2 separate regions of the Homo sapiens genome follow, and region 1 is linked to region 2. The links are contacts of gene promoters, found by promoter capture Hi-C in human tissues and cell types (Jung and others, 2019). All regions are on one chromosome and are shown on one strand. Each heading gives the region's core, a stretch centred on a gene start or on the middle of the fragment in contact. The rest is flanking DNA. Distances are from core to core; before and after follow the strand shown.

Region 1 (5,455 bases), core at 1,552-4,051, 100 kb before region 2:
CTGAGAGGTGCCCAAAGTCCTCTGAAGGGTCCCTTGCAGAGGTAAAAGGAACACAAAGGGAGAAGAATGGAGGAAGACAGCAGAGAAAGTGAGGGGTGCAGAGTGGGGGCAGAGGCTAGGAGACAGGATGGGAGCCCAAGGGGTGGGAACCATGGGGCAGAGGGAAATGCCCAGAGCACAGAGTAGAGACAAGATGACAGAGCAGGGCAATGAGAGCAAGGTGCGAAGGGGCAAAGACAGGGGTCCGAGAGGCCGCCCCCCAGGCTGCTTCTCCCCAGCACCCCTGACCCTACACACTCCTCGGGGGCAGGACCAGGTGCCCCTGCAAGGGTGGTGCTGAGAACTCCATTTCTTTCTTTTTTTTTTTTTTTGAGACGGAGTCTCTCTCTGTCGCCAGGCTGAAGCGCAGTGGCGCGAGCCCGGCTCACTACAACCTCCAACTCCCGGGTTCAAGTGATTCTCCTGCCTTAGCCTCCCGAGTAGCTAGGATTACAGGCATGCGCCACCATGCCCAGCTAATTTTTGTATTTTTAGTAGAGCTGGGGTTTCACCATGTTGGCCAGGATGGTCTCGATCTCCTGACCTCGTGATCTGCCCGCCTCGGCCTCCCAAAATGCTGGGATTACAGGCGTGAGCCACCGTGCCCGGCCGAGAACTCCATTTCATTCAAGTGTCAGCTCACTGACTGGTCCTTTCTGACTCATACCCTGACACGGCCCCCGAGAGGGGAGCTGGCTTGGACATCCCGCCCCACCCAGCCATCTGCCCCTGGTTACTGGAACAGGGCAGGAGAGGGAGCACGGGCAGGTGAAGCACACAGCCCATACGGCCAGTGGCAGATGGGAGCCACCCAAGCAGAGAGCTGAGGCCCAGCTGGTGAAACTGCCTGGGTGAGGGTCAATGGCAAGGGCCATGGCTGGTCGTGCTCTATTTGCCGGCCAATGCTCATCTTGCTGGCCGCTGTCTGCCCGGAAGAAAAGAGGCAAACATGCACCCCACAGCCCCACTGGGGGCCCAACCAGCTGTCAACTTAGTGCCCTTGGAAGCCACAGGGCAGCTGTCTGCTGATGCAGCACACCGTCCTTTTTTTTTTTTTTTTTTTTTTTTTGAGACAGGGTCTCGCTGTGTCGCTCGGACTGGAGCGCAGTGGCGCAATCACAGCTCACTGTAGCCTCGACCTCCTGGGTTCAAGTGATCCTCCTGCCCTGCCTCAGCCCACAGAGTAGCTGGGACTATAGGCGTGCACCACCAAGCCTGGCTAATTTTTATATTTTTAGTAGAGACGGGGTCCCCCTGTGTTGCCCAGGTTGGTCTCAAACTCCTGGGCTCAGGCGATCCTCCAGCCTCAGCCTCTCAAAGTGCTGGGATTACAGGTGTGAGCCTGGCCCTTTTTTTTTTTTTTTAAGTCTGCTGTCTTTTAATATAAGGACAAAAGAGGAGGCTAAAGGCAATGAGTAGCTCTGCCAGAAAAGACCAGCAACATCGGGGACTTTTTCCAGATTTCCGGGGATCTCAGAGCCTAAGTTCTAAGATACAGAAAACCGCGTCTCTCGGTCCCAAAGCAGGCTCCTGCCAAGCCCATGTGTTCTTGCTCCGGCTCCTGTGATTCTCCTCAGCACACGCAGTTGCACCCAAGAGGAGCCCTGAGAGGTGAGTGGGCAGATCATGAGATGTGGTGGGTGTCAAGGCCCGCATGCCCACCAGCTCTGTAAATAAGCCAAAGACCAGGGGAAGGCCACCCCAGGCTCAGAGTTTGGAGCTGCCCCAAGTCCTGCCTTCCTCCAGGTCCAAGGAGAAGACAGAGCCTCCCCGGGTGAGCTGCCAGAGTGAGCTCAGGAATCCTGCTCCAGGAACTCCAGAAATCTCACCCTGCCCTGAGGCAAGCAGTGCAACTGGGCTGTTAGTTCTCAGGCCGCAGGGAGCTCTGAAAGGCTGTAGAGGAAGGTCAGGCCCTGCTTGTCAAGTGACTGCAGCAGGCGTGTCAGGAGGGGGGTTAGTTGTTAGAATCGGAGGGAAAAAAAAACAATATCCAGCATGTGTGCTGCAAGAAGAGGGGCTAAGAGGGTACATGATGTTATGATGGAATTCTGGAATCCAAGCTAATTTAACTCAAACAGGGGACCCTTCAATGCTACTCTTGGCCAAGTGTCATAGTTTATTTTTCCCAATGCCACATCTTATTTCTCACAGAGTTAAGGTATTTCATACTCACATTATCTGGGAACGGATCACCTGTCACCCATTACTCAGCAATCACGTCTCTAATAATGCGGGGAGAGCCACGTGCCCCTCATCCTCAGGGTGTGGCAGTTCTCACCTCCCCTGTTCAGAGGCCAGGTTCCCTCACCTCCCCTGTTCCAGGCTGGAAGTGGCCCAGAGGGTAGGAGGCTCTTTAATAACAGGGATTTGGACCAGGTGCAGTGGTTCATGCCTGTAATCCCACACTTTGAGAGGATGAGGTGGGGTGGATCACCTGAGGTCAGGAGTTTGAGACCAGCCTGGCCAACATGGTGAAACCCTGTCTCTACTAAAAATACAAAAATTAGCCGGGCGTGGTGGCACACACCTGTAATCCCAGCTACTTGGGAGGCTGAGGCAGGAGAATTGCTTGAACCCGGGAGGTGGAGGTTACAGTAAGCCAAGATCACACCACTGCACTCCAGCCTGAGCAACAGAGCGAGACTCCGTCTCAAAAAGTAAAATAAAATAACATAAAGTAAAATAACAGGGATCTGCTATGGCCTCAGATTTAAGGGGGAAACATTCACCTTATTGGCAACATAGCCTTTGCTTTGAGTAATCGTGGCAACCTGGGAATAGCTTTGTGAATTTATGAAGTGGAATTTCAGGCAGAAAAATGCCCAGGCACTGCTACTGCCCAGCAGACAGGGTGGGAGGGCTGGCAGATTTCCTTTTAATCTGCTTTAAAGCTTCAAAGAGATTCTGTCTGTAGGAAGTTTCAGCTGTACCTGGGCAGTTTCCTGACTTGGACCTCAACCACTCCAAAACACCCAAGAGGAAGCCATTAGGAACAGACTGAAAGAATCAAGCTCTTTCTCTTCGATGCTCATCTGACCCGCAGGAGCTTACAACCCGCATGTTTAAAGGCATGGTTTTCCAGAACAAGTCTTGGTTCACTGGGTCAGGCCCTACACACCCCGAGAGCATCAGCTGGCACTGGAATCAGGAAGGGTGACCCTGTATCCCCCGAAATGCAGCCACTTAGTGACTCCGAAAGGCCACTGAGCAAAGGCAGGAGCCCTGCACTGGGAGAAGGGATTTGCCTATGGCTAGAGGTTGAGTTTTCCCACTGCAGAATTCCATCTATTAGAACACCAAACTTGGCTTTATTATGATTATGGATATTATTATAAATAATAAGGAGCTGATTTGATACATGCAGCAAGCTTGGCATGGAAACATTGCAAAACAGGAAAAGAGGGTAACAGCGGACTCTGGCCCACCTTCCCAGTCTGTGCTGGGTACAGACGGCACTGCTGGAAACACATCTCCAAAATCATAATCTACAAAAACGAGGGACAAAACTGAAGATTAGAAACACAGGCAGTGGAAGGATGACTGGAGGGAGGGGAGGGGAAATGGGGTGGGAGACATGGGGAGAAAATAGGAGAGGAAAACTTCAACTTTCTACATTGTATCCAACAACCTTGGGGAAACTTACTAGGGCCCTGACTGCCTCTCAGCTCAGGCGCTGGCCCAGGAGCCTCCAACCAGCTGGAAAGACCTGTCAGGGTGACCCCTTTCCACATCCAGAAGCTGGTTCTGGCAGAGAGAAGCCTGGCTGCCTGTGCCTAGCTTTGTTTTCTACCTCTTACGTGCCTTCCCTCCATACCCTAGCAGGGCAAGGAGACACTGCCCTGGCAGCTGCAGTTGCACAATCTCCAAATTGCTGAGGGGACACCTCCATCCATGGATCCATCCTTGCCCTGGCTCTTCCGGCAAGGCCCACCCCTCCAACTCCTCTAAGGTGGCCCATGGGCCCAACCTAAGGAGACTGTGCCGCCTTCTTCAGCTTGCACGGTCAGCAATGCAGGTCTTGCTAACAGCAAGTTTGAGAGGGACCTCCCTTCCTGGGACATATAACCCGTGGTACAGCAGAAATAAAGAAAGGGGAAGGTCAAGGTCTCAATGCTGAGGCAATTCTAGGGTGCCCCAGGGCTAAATTGGGGCTGGGATCCCCTTCCCTGGAGGTGAGGTGGTGGGGTGAAGTAAATGAAGGGCTCTGGTCTCCTACAGGAGATAAAGAGGGGAAAATGGCCAGTTTTATCCATGAACACCAGGGCCTAAGGTTTGAAAGAAACCAGGCTGTTCCAGTAAATCATTGGGTCAAGACAACAAAATGACCTGCAGCTTCTTCCTCGGTCCCTGATGCAAAGGGTGCGACCATCCCAAACACATCAGCGAGCGCAGAAGGAACTCAGAGAAATCGGACGGACACACAGGACACAGTGGCAAGGTTTCCCTGCGCTTCAGACCTGCCTGGTTCTCTCTTCTTCTAGGGGTTGCTTAACCTCCTTCTGCAAAGAATGTGGGGTCAGACAAGCTCCCCAGAACAGGCAACACTCAACCCTGCGACAAGGTTTCCAGGTCCCACTGCTAAACCTTCCTTGCTTAGAAAACTGCCACAGGCATGTGACTAGAACCTTCTGGAAAAGGGTCTAACCTTAAAAAATATATATTTTATATATATATATATATATATAATTTCAGCTTTTTGTGCCCAGAATCCACTTTTTAGCCACCACAGGGACTCTGAGGAGATGAAGATCTGGGAAATGGCCAGCCCTGTTTAATTGCAAATTTCAGCCACCAGACCAAAACTAGCCAAGGAAGACATCACCCAGCCAGGCTTAAGCAGTTCAAGTCTGTTTCACAACAGGGGCTTAGCTTTTCTGCCCTGGGGCCACTCACCCTCACTAGATGGGGCAATCGCACTGTCATCCCACTCCAGGTTGGTGGAGGTGACGGAGTTGAAAGAGTTGAGGGACAGACTGTCTGAGCCGTGGACCGAGCTGGGAAGGCGGTCTTCAAAGTCCAGCAGGTACTGAGGTTTGTAGTAGTCGGGCATGTAGGGGGCCAGGTCTAGGTAAGGGGCATCCTGAGGAGAGAGTAGAGGAGGCCCGTTTGGTGGGAGGCCTCGTGCAGCGGCCTTCTGCAGACAGCAGGATCCAGGCCTGGGAGACACAGATGTGCCTCTTTGGGAAATCAATGGCTTAAGGTAGTAAATTCAAAGAAAAGCTGCTAAGAAGAGCAATGTGAATAGTGTTGGCTTTTAAAGCTGTGGACTTCAGGCTGATGGAAGACAGAGCTGTCAGAACTCAGCTACACCCTTTGATGCCCCCGCTATCTCTCTCTCTCTCTATTTATTTATTTTTTTTTTTGAGACAGAGTCTCACTCTGTTGCCCTGGCTGGAGTGCAATGACGTGGCTCGGC
Region 2 (5,458 bases), core at 2,678-5,177:
ATAGTGGTTTACAAACCACAAATCATGCTGTGTGCATTTCCAAGATCATACAATTACTGCTATTATTTGCCTTTCATTTGAGGGTCCTTGTATGTTGTGCCTACTTTTTCCATATGCCACCTACAGAGGTAAATTATCATGTCTCAAAAATATGAAGACATTAATTTAAAGTGAAGCTAAGTTCTGATAACTGTTTGAAGTTCACCCAGGCAAGTCTGCATCAAAGCATCAAACAGAGCCATGACTGGCTTCCAAGCCCACACTTCTATTAAGAGACAGAACATGCCCAGCTTTAATCACATGTACAAGCAGAGATGGCTTGTTCTAAATTTGTTATCACTGCATTGTAACTACTATCATCAGACTAGAGCTGTTAAAAATTAACACCTTTTCCAACTATATGCTTATGTGCAATTGACACTCAGGTGAAAGACTGAATTCTAAACCATTGATCACCAATGTAGGGCAGCCATGCAAGACAATTCTTTAACGGTGGAGGAAGAAACTGAAAATATTAGAATTTTCATTTCCATTTATTTTAGTTCGTCCTTCCTTAAGCTCCATTTTGTGTGTGTACAATGTTACTTTACAGATAACATATTATATATGCATATAATGCACGTTATGTGTATTATATGCACATGTGGCCATATATAATGTATACAACGTATCAGTTCATGTATATAATGTATTATATACATAACAGAAGCATAATCTGAAACATTTTACTGATAGGGATACATGAATGAAAGTTTGGACACCAGTGGTGTGGACACATAGTGGCAGGAAAAAATAGCCAGAACATAAAAATATATATATTTCCTTGAAGAAATGGAATCAGAAATGAGAGGTGAAGGAATGGGAATGGAGAATGTAAACAAGAGGAGGAGTTAAACAGTCTAGGAAAGGAAGGGAAGATGAGTAATATGAGAGAACCCTGGGAGGTAATGGGGGGGGACACTCAAGTAAGTAAACATGATATATTTATGGGTAAAAACTATAGTGATGTTTACTATTATGATTTGATGAAAGGAAATGACTCAAGTGTCTAGGGTGGATCCTGTTCCTGCCTGATGGGCAAGCAAGCAAGTGAAAGACAACCGACCACCAGACACCTTAAAATAGATACTGTGTTGTCAGGTTACAATGGAGCCAACAGAACAGACTGGAAAAACAGGAGCTGTTTATGGCTATCTAATACAGGCTTAACACCAGTTGGAGCCCAAGTTTCTATATGCTAATTTGGCTTGGGAAGGAAGTAAATGCCGAAACATTGACATAATGAACAAGAAATAATTTGGAGTTAGCCTATGTTCAATTACTAAGGTATTCCTAACTTTACCAACTGGCAGAGGGCAATGTCTGGCTGACCACACAATAAATCGTCTTTTATGATGGCTGTAACAAGAAATTTAAGTCAATTAAAGGGGGTGTCAGGTATCCCTTTGACTTAAATTTCTTGTTTCAGCCATCACAAAAAGTGCAGGAATGGAAACAACCTCAACCTCTGTCTTTTCCCAAGCCCTAACAACAAAATCAATTTACATTTTAATTTCTTATTTTCCCTACCAGCCGGTGATCATAACCAGGGTAATATAACAGCTAGAGGAAAAAACAATTGAAAAAGCCACTATCGGGCCGGGTGCGGTGGCTCACAGCACTTTGGAAGGCCGAGGCGGGCAGACCACGAGGTCAGGAGATCGAGACCATCCTGGCTAACATGGTGAAACCCCTTCTCTACTAAAAATACAAAAAATGAGTCGGGCGCGGTGGTGGGCGCCTGTAGTCCCAGCTACTCGGGAGGCTGAGGCAGGAGAATGGCACGAACCCGGGAGGTGGAGCTTGCAGTAAGCCGAGATCGCGCCACTGCACTCCAGCCTAGGCGACAGAGACTCCGTCTCGAAAAAAAAAAAAGAAAAGAAAAGAAAAGAAAAAGCCACTATCAAAAATTGAAGAGTTGTCCGGGAACGGTGGCTCACACCTGTAATCGCAGCATTTTGGGAGGCCGAGGCGGGCAGATCACTAGAGGTCAGGAGTTTGAAATCAGCCTGGTCAACATGGTGAAACCCCGTCTCTACTAAAAAAAAATTACAAAAATTAGCCAGGCGTGGTGGCGCGCGCCCGTAGTCCCAGTTACTCAGGAGGCTGAGGCAGGAGAATCGCTTGAACCCGGGAGACTGGGGTTGCAGTGAGTCGAGAACGCACCACTGCACTCCAGCATGGGCGACAGAGCAAGACTCCGTCTCAAAAACAAAAACAAAAAAAGAAAAAAAATTGAAGAGTTTATTTTCTCTATTTAAACAGTCCTTTCCTAGTTCTCCACATGAGGCATTCACTGACAGAACTGGTTCCTGAGCTTTTGTGGATTAACTTTTTAAATTCTTTCTGAACAGCTTTATGCCAAGGTTCTAAAGTTCACATTGTGTAAAGGAATCATACTTCTGAACAAAGTATTGACACGTGTTTACCATAAGACAGCAGAACAAGCTGCAGTTGGGCAATCGTTTTGTAAACTATTTCATAACTGCAGTAGAAAATCAAGATTTACTTGATGGAGACTTGGGAGACCTCTATAATTTTCTTAATGTTTAGACTATTTCCTCCAGGCTAAATTTATTAAGTCATGATCTAAGTGTTTTAGTGTAAAGTTTACAGCGTTAGTGTCACCGATTCTGTTTGATAAAGACTAGGGGCAGCCCCAAAGCATTTTGAGAATTACTTTGCTTAGTTAAAATATGAGAGGCTGAACTTCTTTCCAGCAAGCTGAGTAGGGAAATGAAACCACCAAACAGCACTGATACTAGGCCGTTTCCAAGCAAATATCCTTTTAAAGCATTGAGCTTTGAACTGACCCAAACTCTGAACTGTGACCTGAAAGAAAAAGGGCCTTCTGGCTTACTACCAGGGTAGAACCGAAACAAACAAACAGCTTGAGTTGAACCAATAGGTACTGTTTTTCAAAAGAATTTAACCAGAAACGCATGTGGTGGGTAAAGAGCATTTCCAAAGACCCCAAAATGAGGTAGTGCAAGTCTTAAACTTTTTCTTTCACCGGAAGTGCAAATCTGTGCATTTAAAGGTAAACTGCGTATATTTAAGCAGAAACCCTCTCCAGAAAAAAAAAAAAAAAAAAGCAGAGGAACATCTATCTACCACAGTGATCCAAACTGGTATTTCTGGTTTGCAGGATGTATGAATCCTAGCAAACCCAGGGCTGCTTCTGAGGTCCACAACGATATCCTACACTCGGGATTAGAAACAGGGAAGGGCCAAAGAGCCAAAGGTGGGGAGGGTTAGCGCTGCTCAACAGTCCACGCGCCCCTCACGCTGCAGTGGGTGCGTCTGCGGTCAGGTTCTCCGCTCCCTCTCCTCGTACCCCACCCCATGCTCGGAGTGTGTGAGGGCAGCTACTGATGCCAGCTCCCCAGCTCCTTTCCGGATGCGGGGGTGACCTGAGAATGGCTATCCTTGCTCCCCCCAGCCCCCAATTCTTCACCAGTAGCAAAGGGAGGGAGTGAGGCCCCGAGGCGGGGAGGGCTTAGCTCCGGGGCAGGCCCGGCTCGCTGCCCGGCGTACCTGGCTCTCGGCTGCGGGGATGCCAGACTCGAGCTCGCACAGCGCGCGGAAGTTGTGCAGCTCGAAGTCGGCGTCGACCTGGAGGGAAAAGGTCACCTCGGAGAGGTCCCTCCGCACACAGTACACGGTGAGCAGCATGGCCCGGGCCCGACCCGGCTCGGCTCGGCTCGGCCCGGCCTGGGCGCGGGGCGCAGGGGAAGAGGCGGCGGCGTGGCCTGGCTGGTGCTGCGGGAGGACGGCGCCGGCTGCTCGTTCGCTCGCTCGCTCCCTCCCTCACACACGCTCAGTGAGTCACTCCCTCCCGCCCTCACTAGCAAGCACGGCCGCCGCCACACGCCTGCGAGTCCGTCTGCCTGCCGGCCTGCCTCCCACGGCTGCCGCCAAGCGCGCCGGCCGCCCGGCGCCCCGCCCCGCCGCAACGCGGCTGCCGTAAAGCCCGCCTCGCCTTCCCCGCCTTCGCAACGCAGCGGGGGGCGGGGCCGGGAAGAGGAGGAGGAAGCCAGGAGAGGATAGGAGGGGGAGGAGTGGGAAGGGGGCGTGGAAGAGGAGAGGGAGGAAGGGCAAGAAAAGGGGAGGGAAGGAAAGGAACGCGGAGAAGGAAATCTCTGCTGACTGGTTGACTTAATGACAGAAGTCTGTGGAGGAGTCCCCGGTCTTATTTATTCACCGAACAGGCATTGATTAAGCGCCTACCATGTGTCGGGCGCTGGCGATGCAGAAATGAATAAAAGGATAAATCCTTCTCCGTAACTCTCAATCTAGTACAGGAGTTAGTAATAAAACATATTTTTCGAGGTAGAAATTGAGGCTCCGACAGAGTAATTCACTTCCTGTCTTAGTGATTTAGGATTGAAACCAAAATCATTACCCTCCCTAGTCTACAGAAGCCAGTTGGCTGTGGCCCACGCCTACCTCCCCAGCCCCTTCTTCCGAGCTCTTCCCACATTCTCTGCCCTCCCAGCCACATAGGTCAGTTCCTCCAAGGCTCCATTCCCCTGTCTTGTAAATAATTTTCTCTCTACTTGGACTGTGTCTGTTTCCTAGCCCTAGCAACTCCTACCACCTAGCGCAGTGCCTTTTTGGGCACAGCTTAGAATCTACTCAATAAATATTTGCTACTTTAATGGCCTGTTTTTAAGGCACACAGCTGATGAGTGGTAGAGGCCCAGAACTAAGGTGCGGATGAGTAAGAAAACCAAAACTGAAAGATGAACTTGTAATGGATGCCAGATTAGCATCTTTCCATTTACTCCCACTCCCCCTCCATGGTAGGGAGCCCTTTTCCATTTTAACAGGAGAGAAGGAGCAAATAAGATGGCTGTGGGTGCAGGTAAGTAGGTAGTAAGTAGGCTGTTGGTGGCAGGAAAGGGAGAATTAGCAGCTGAAGGCTTTTACAAAGAGAAATTAGAGGAGCTGGGCGCGGTGGCTCACGCCTGTAATCCCAGCACTTTGGGAGGCCAAGGCGGGCGGATCACAAGGTCAGGAGTTCGAGACCAGCTTGGCCAATATGGTGAAACCCCGTCTCTACTAAAAATACAAAAATTAGCCGGGCATGGTGGCGGACACCTATAGTCCCAGCTACTCGGGAGGCTGAGGCAGGAGGGTCACTTGAACGCGGGAGGCGGAGGTTGTAGTGAGCCGAGATCAGGTCACTGCACTCTAGCCTGGGAGACAGAGCGAGACTCTGTCTCAAAAAAAAAAAAAAAAAAGAGAAAGTAGAGGCACAGGGGAGTGAGAATGCTTATATCCCCTAGGAGCAACAGAAAGCTTGACTATCAGTGGCTTAAACAAACAAGGGTTTGTTTTCTCACAGGAGAGAAGGCCTGGAGGTAGCAACAGCACTGGTTGAGTGGCTCACTGAAATCAGGGCCAATACTTTTGT

The links. The method cuts DNA at HindIII sites, captures the fragments that hold promoters and counts their contacts. A contact is called where the count stands out against the background at its distance.
Region 1: a fragment that was not itself captured here is called in contact with the fragment with the promoter of DDI2 in region 2 in 3 of the 25 tissues and cell types used here (aorta, psoas muscle and small bowel).

Annotation. Positions count from the first base shown.
Region 1 is chr1:15,719,398-15,724,852 of GRCh38, reverse strand. It overlaps PLEKHM2 (pleckstrin homology and RUN domain containing M2), which reads right to left. Exons shown (of 20, transcript NM_015164.4): 6 at 4,933-5,119; 7 at 3,465-3,524. Among named protein-coding and RNA genes, the nearest start is that of SLC25A34, 14 kb to the left of the region's middle. RefSeq lists a silencer at 49-325. The HindIII fragment of the contact is 6,722 bases long and covers 1-5,455 here.
Region 2 is chr1:15,615,927-15,621,384 of GRCh38, reverse strand. It overlaps DDI2 (DDI proteasomal shuttling factor 2), which reads right to left and starts at 3,927. Exons shown (of 10, transcript NM_032341.5): 1 at 3,577-3,927. The coding sequence starts at 3,714. RefSeq lists a silencer at 3,604-4,173. The HindIII fragment of the contact is 8,472 bases long and covers 1-5,458 here.